2 separate regions of the Homo sapiens genome follow, and region 1 is linked to region 2. The links are contacts of gene promoters, found by promoter capture Hi-C in human tissues and cell types (Jung and others, 2019). All regions are on one chromosome and are shown on one strand. The core of a region is centred on a gene start or on the middle of the fragment in contact, and the rest is flanking DNA. Distances in the headings are between cores, read along the strand shown. Region 1 holds the start of XYLT2 (xylosyltransferase 2). Region 2 holds the start of ITGA3 (integrin subunit alpha 3).

The links. The method cuts DNA at HindIII sites, captures the fragments that hold promoters and counts their contacts. A contact is called where the count stands out against the background at its distance.
Region 1: a contact is called between the fragment with the promoter of XYLT2 here and the fragment with the promoter of ITGA3 in region 2, in 1 of the 25 tissues and cell types used here (IMR-90 fibroblasts).

Annotation. Positions count from the first base shown.
Region 1 is chr17:50,344,561-50,348,067 of GRCh38, forward strand. It overlaps XYLT2 (xylosyltransferase 2), which reads left to right and starts at 1,566. Exons shown (of 11, transcript NM_022167.4): 1 at 1,566-1,715. The coding sequence starts at 1,581. RefSeq lists silencers at 1,353-1,552, 1,613-1,712, 1,783-1,872, 2,688-2,982. The HindIII fragment of the contact is 7,409 bases long and covers 1-3,507 here.
Region 2 is chr17:50,054,840-50,058,415 of GRCh38, forward strand. It overlaps ITGA3 (integrin subunit alpha 3), which reads left to right and starts at 1,271. Exons shown (of 26, transcript NM_002204.4): 1 at 1,271-1,806. The coding sequence starts at 1,601. It overlaps PICART1 (p53 inducible cancer associated RNA transcript 1), which reads right to left and starts at 900. Exons shown (of 3, transcript NR_038230.1): 1 at 790-900. RefSeq lists an enhancer at 1-225 and a silencer at 1,205-1,344. The HindIII fragment of the contact is 12,867 bases long and covers 1-3,576 here.

The DNA.
Region 1 (3,507 bases), core at 316-2,815, 290 kb after region 2:
CCGGGATGTCAACTGATGTTTTCCAAAATCATTGAAGTGTAGGCTCTCTTAAGTAGCCAAACTGTCGTCGGAAACATAGTTTACAATTCTCCCATTTAACAAACGCGGAGGAACAGAATGATTACAAATGCTAAAGCGCAGAAGACGATTAAAGGAGGTTATTTATGTACCATCAAATGCTTGTGTATCCTGTACACATCAGTTTAGAATTCTCTCATCAACCCAACCTTGTGGCAACTTCCAAACCCCTCCATCATGGCCTTCTAACTTTTCAAACTTTTTTTTTTGTAAGCCACTTCTCTTTCCAGACCTCTCTGTAGTGGTTCCTAACGTCTTCCCTTTAAACCTTCTAACTTGTGTTTGCTATTTTTATGACTTCCTCCTCCCAGTGCCTGGCTTCCCCAGCTGGGGATTCACCTTGCTTTGGTGGCCACTGTTTTGCTCTTCTCGCCTTCCCTCTCTCCATGGGCCTGCCAGGCTTAGGGAAGGCCGCAGGTGCTTAGACCTTGTCCAATGCGGTGCTCATTGAACACGCCGGGTTCTCAAACAAATGTTAGGGACAGCTGGTTAGACGGGAATCTGGGCCTCCCCTGCTTGCTTTCCGCAACATTTCTTGAGCATTGCTGGGTGTCCAAGGCAGGGCGAGATCCCAGAGCAGTCACGACCGGATGTATGATTGGTGCTCACTGCACAGTGCTGGGGACGCACAGGGAGGATGCCACTGATGGTGTAGGGGGTGGGGACTTGGCAGAGGGAGCAGCATGTGTCGAGGTCTACTGGTTCTCCAAGTTTGGTCCCAGAGCAAAGGCATCAGCATCACCTGGGAACCTGCTGAAAATTCTAATGCTTAGGCCTCACTACCGACCTACCAAAGCAGACACTCTGGGGGAGGGAGGAGGGGCACTAAAAATCTGTTTTATCAAGACCTCCAAGAGACTCCAACACACGCTAGAGTAGTTTGAGAACCACGACTCTGGGAGCGGCCTGAGGATGCTTAGGATGAGCGCAGAGCGGAAAGGAGGATTCGTGAAGGCTCTCTGATGCCAGTCAAGGGGTTAGACTTTGCCCCGCAGGTGCGGCCTCCAGGTTTTTAAGCAGACGCCTGTGGCTCTCACACGCCCTCTCCCAAGGCGGCGTCTCTGGGAGCCCTGGCGTTCCCTGGGCCCCCGGGACCGAGAGCTTACCCGCGTGGGACTGAACTCGCCCACGACCCCCGACACCAGGCAAGAGAGGTTGTGCCGCAGACCCTCCACTCCCCAGCACCAGGCGCTCGCCGTCCAGGTGGAGGGGAGCACACGTGGGAGCCAGGGGCACCGGCGGAGACACGAGCGCAGAAGGCACGCGCTCAAGCCCACGCCCGCGACTGCCGGGACTGAAGGTGTTGCGAGCCCCGGCTCCACCCCTAGCCTGCGGTGCGCCGTGCTTTGGCCCCGCAGGCCCCGCCCCCGGCCCCGCCCCGGCGCGCGCCCGGCCCGCCTCCCTAGGCGTGGAGGAGGGGGGGCGGCTCAGCCCCGCGCCCGTGCGCGCGCTCGCGGCCGGGTTGCAGGGCTGGGCGCGCGCCCCGCGTCCCGGGCAGGAAGATGGTGGCGAGCGCGCGAGTGCAGAAGCTGGTGCGGCGCTACAAGCTGGCGATTGCCACGGCGCTGGCCATCCTGCTGCTGCAGGGCCTGGTAGTGTGGAGCTTCAGCGGCCTGGAGGAGGACGAGGCGGGCGAGGTGCTCCGACGGCCGGGCGGGCGGGCAGGCCGGGCGCGGGGGCGCGCGGGGTCCTGGCGGGGCTGCGGGCGGCCCCAGCCGGGGAAGTGGGGCACGGGCCGCGTGCGTGCGTGCGGGGCGCCGGCGGTCGCCCAGAGCGGAGCATCCGGCCCCCGGCACTCCCTTCCCCAGCAGGCCTAGGGAGCTGCGCGCGGGGGCAGTGCGTGACCTGGAGACCCGGGCCCTGGTGGATTGGGAGTCGGGCGGGGGGAGCAGGTCATGCTAGGGTGGTCTCCGGCCAAGGGAGCGATGAAGGTCAGGCGCGGCGAGCGGGGCTGGGAGGCGGGGCTGGGCCCGAACCTGCTCGGAGGTGGGGAGCCCCAGGCCAAACTTTCTGAAGTTGGGAGGGGGCGGGGATATGCGCGCCGTGGGCGGAGGAGTAGGGCCAAGGGACTCAGGGCGTCCTTCCCCAGCTGAGCCCGAGGGGCAGCGGCCGGTGAGGAAGGGGAGCTCGGGGGTGGAATTCAGGCCTGGGACAAAGTGTGTACCCGGGAACTGAAGGAACAGGGAGTGACGCCGAAGGAGAGAACTGGAGTATTCCCGAGGTGTGGCTTCCTCAGCCGGGGGTTTGAAGAACCTGGATGGGTCTCCGGAGGGCAGGGAGAGGAGGAACTGAGCTGGTGAGTTGGCCTCAGGACCTTAGGGAATTAGGGAGGGGCCCTCTGGCTTTAAGGGAATGGGGACTGTAACAGAGCCCCAGCCGCAGAGCAGGGGCAACCAACAGCCGTCTCAGCCCCCAAGTCCCTGCCTCGAGGGTCTTTCTCCCTCTTCCCCGATGTGGTTTCAGCGGGAGGCTCAGACACCTCAGCGGTGTGGTGAGGAAGGGTCCATTGGGTCTGGGTTCGTGCTGCGGAGATGGAGAGGACAGGCCACACCACAGCCCTAAGCTGTGGCCCAGAGGTCAGGACCTCCCTGCCCCCAGCGCCCCTGTTCTGCTGCCTCCAGGGCTCCGGGTCAGAGACTCTATCTGCTGCTGTCCTCCGGCAAGCCCCGATACCCGCGACCCCTTACCGCATCTCGCCAGTCTGGAAGGCCTGGTGTGGAGACAGAAGAGCTGCCCTTGCCTTTTTTTGGGAGAACCCAGAGGGTGGGATGGTGATGGGGGCTGGAACAGAGTCACATGAGACCATAACTCCAAAAGGAGGTGGGGGCGGGGGTGGGGCTGGCTCCGTGACATCCGTGGGGTGTAGACCTACAAGTAGGACAAGCAAGTAGGAGAGTGTTTCAGGCCCAGTGTAAGAAGACTGTTTGGGCAGATGGGACATTCCAAGATGGAATGGGCTGCCAAAGCAGTTAGGGAGCCCTCTGACCCTGGAATATGTGACCACTCTGGGCTACCGCCCCCATCCCCCACCACCTCCTCCTCCAGCTTCCTGGCTGAATGAATAGGGGAATCCTGGGCTGGAATGTTTGAAAAAGCTTGTGCGGTCCAGGCACCCATTGCTGCTTGGACCCCCTCAGCTGCTCCCTCACCTGACTCTGGGGTTGCCAGGCAGCATAACGGGGTGCATGGGAAGGTGAGTGCTGAAGCTGGACCACCCACTTCACCACTCTCTTCCAGCTCTGACCCTGAGAAGACCACCAGCAAATCACTTTGCCTCCTCCCTTATCCTTATCAGTATCCCTCCTCAAGATGGGGATAATAATGGCACCTCCCGTGTTAGGTGATTATAAAGATTAAGTGAAAATGATGCCTGTGAAGCACTTGCAGGAGTTCCTGGCACATGCTCAGCTGTCAGTAAATAAATAACTC
Region 2 (3,576 bases), core at 21-2,520:
TCACCCAGGCTGGAGTGCAGTGGCGCGATCTCGGCTCACTGCAACCTGCGCCTCCCGGGTTCAAGCGATTCTCCTGCCCCAGCCTCCCAAATAGCTGGAACTACAGGCGCCCGCCACCACGACCGGCTAATTTTTGTATTTTTTTAGTAGAGACAGGGTTTCCCCACATTGGCCAGGCTGGTCTCGAACTCCTGACTTCGTGATCCGCCCTCCCCGGGTTCCCAAAGTGCTGGGATTACAGGCGTGAACCACTGCGCCTGGCCAGAGTAACCTCTTGAAGTTCCCTTTCGATTTGATTCCTTGGTGGAGGAGACCTTTAGTCTCCGCCCACTTACTGCCACCTGGCCCTACCCACCAAACACCTGATGGGTGCTGACGTCCGAGCCCAGTCTCCAAACACTCTGTTCGAGCTTGGGTGGGAAGAGGGAGCCTCTGGGATTCTGCTGGGCTGGGCCCTGAAGGCAGGAGTGGACGAGAAATGGATACGGTCTAGGCTCAGCTTCCCGGCTACGCAGTGCGTTCTGTGAAGGACGGACTCATTTCTACATTGACAGTCTTAGCCTTTGATACCAGAAGTCGCAGCACTTAGGGGGAAAAATGCTTTTTGGTAATTATAATTAGCGACATTTGGTTGTTACCACTGCTAAATATGTCTGTCTTTGCTGAGGAGCCAATCTCAGCTCGGATCAGGGTGAGTGGATAGGAGAAATAAATCTCGGCAAAGACAGCGAGGGGCCTGAGTGCGAGGAAGAACTCCCAGAGACCGCCAGCCACCTCTTGGGGACTCACAGCGCTGCGGAGGCGAGTCCAGCATTCTAGCCAGCCGCGCACGGACGTCGGTTCCCAGATGCGCCAATGCCAGGTCTCTCCAGCCCGGCTGGCCTTTTCAGCAGCAGCAGCAGCAGCCGCAGGAAAGCGGCCAGACAAATCCCACCCCCGGCCCCGCCCGTCACATCCATCTTGCTCCCCAGGCGACGCTTTCTCGGAGAAGCGAGGGGCGGGGAGGGGAAATCTAAGCCTTTGGGGGTTGCCGACAGGTGTTTGGGGGAGAAGGCGGAGCTGGGGTAGGGAGGATGAGGAGGGAGGGGCGGTGCTGCCCCTTTAAGAGGAGGCGGCCGAGCCGGGATCTTTTTCTCTTTCCCCGGAAGGAAAGCGCAGCCCGGGCTGGGCTCGCAAGGTGGGGAGGTGCGGGACTGGGCGTGGGGAGGCGGGGCGCGCGCCGGGGGACCCCTCCCTCCTGTCCTCCTTGCGGTCGACCGGTGCGCTTGCCAGATCCGCCGCGAAGCCGGGATCGAAGGCGACAGCGCGGCCAAGGGGGCGCGGCCGGGACAAGCTGGGGGCCGGTTGCCCGGGGCAGGGACGGCGGCGACCCGGCCGCTGGGGAGGCAGGAAGATAGACCCACGGATCTTAGGAAGGGATCCGAGAGCGCAGCTGTGAAACTGGCTGGGGCTGGGGGCACGAAACCGATCAGCGCTACGGAGCGCAGCGGCCGGCGGGTTCCAGTGTCCTCCGGCGGCGCGGGGAGCAGGTGAACAGGTCCTCACGCCCAGCTCCGCGCCCTCACGCGCTCTCGCCGGGACCCCGCTTCCGCTGGCAGCCATGGGCCCCGGCCCCAGCCGCGCGCCCCGCGCCCCACGCCTGATGCTCTGTGCGCTCGCCTTGATGGTGGCGGCCGGCGGCTGCGTCGTCTCCGCCTTCAACCTGGATACCCGATTCCTGGTAGTGAAGGAGGCCGGGAACCCGGGCAGCCTCTTCGGCTACTCGGTCGCCCTCCATCGGCAGACAGAGCGGCAGCAGCGCTACCTGTAAGTGAAGCTGGAGGGTGTGGGGTGGGAGCGAGAGAGTGTGCGAGCGCGGGATGCGGGTCCGGAGCTGAGTCGGAGCCCAGGGCAGCTGGCCCTTGGGAGCCAGGATTAAGGGGCGGCCCTCTGGCTGCTGGGGGTTGGCGGGAAGTGGAGGATTGGGTGTGGGGTCGGGCAGTAATCATTGGCAAGTGCTGACGGGGCCAGAACCTGTCTGGACGCCACCCCTCCGCCCTTTAGATCTCTCATGAGAGCGGAAGTGGGGTCCCGGTGGCTGAGTCCTCTCCCATTCTGTGAACCGAGTACCCAGCACTAGCCTGTTCTCTCCAGGGCTGGGAGCTGGGGTAAACTGCAAGATAAACACCCAGCGGACTCCCCCCTTCCCGTACGCTTGGGGGAAAAATGAGCATATACATTTAAGCACCTCGCTGGTAGTCTGCGGCCACGCCAGCCACACCCTCTGCAGAGCCAGACTGGATGGCCTTCTCAACCGCTGGCTTGGCGGATGGAGGGTGAGGCGATGGGTGAGTCTGGGCGTTTGGAGCTGTCCATACGCTCCCTCTGACGCCTTGAGGATAGGGGCGGTGAAAGAGAGAGGAGGACTTGTCCCAACTCTGGCTGGGTCTCCTCCTGCCCACCCGCAAGCAGTGGCACTCTCCCCGCAGACATCTTCCCTGCATTCCACAGATTCGTGTTGGATCTTCAACCCTGAGTGTGTTTGTTTTGGTTTGAAGAGGGAAACAGTGTTTTTCTCTTTCTTCTGTTCTCCTTCCCCAACAGCTGCAAGGAGGAGGGGAAGAGCTATGCACAGTGGAGGAAGGAGGAGGAGGTTGCACCCAGCCTCCTGGGTCCCCCTCACTCCACCAGACGCCCTCATGCCCAGGAGCATGTCCAGGCTTCAGAGGTCTCTCTGCCGTGGCCTCAGAGCGCGCGGAGGTTGGCGGTTGGGGGAGGTGAAGCTGTCCAAAGAGGGACGGTGTTTAGGACAGGTTAAGCAGGTACCATCCACCACTTTGGGCTGGGCGATCTGCCAGGCATCTGCCCCCACCTAGCCTCTGCCCCCACCTGGCCTCTGACCCCACTGAACAAGAAGACGTGGTCACATCCAGGGTACACTGGAAAATCTCCCTGCTCTGGCTGGGGCCTGCAGAGCTTGAGGAAGTTTAGAATGTCCAAAGTCCAAACTCTGCCCCCGCCTTGGTTCTGCCCTCCTGACCCAGCCTACCTACCTGGACTTAACCTCAACTCCATCTTGCTCTTGCAGAGGCTAGGGCTACCACACCCTTCCCAGCCTGGCCCCAGCAGCTGCCACCTGGCCTTAGCCAACCCTCTATCTTTTGGAGATCCTGAGCCACCATGAGCACAAGTTTCTACATCAGCTCTTTCTGCCCTAACTGAGAAAAAGATTTTCAGACTTTCAATGCCAAATCTGCATGATATAAGATAACATAGGTAAAGAGATCAGACTGGAAAGAAAGAGTCAATAATGATTCCGCAACCCTTTTGCCTGGTGACCTTGAGCAAGATATTTCCCCTCCCTGGGCCAGGTTTCCCCCAAAACGGGTTGGACCTGGATCTAGTGCTCTTTCCCACTGCTGCTGGCCTGTGAGAAGCAACTTGATATGGTAGAGGGAGAAGAGGCTTGGAGGTCCCATGGCCAGTGTCCTGTCTCAGATCTGTTACCAATACCTGAACCTGAATTTCCGCACATGTTGGAGGGAGGGGAACAGCATGCCTTCTGCTGGGATGTTAGTGGGGCTGTAACGAGATAAA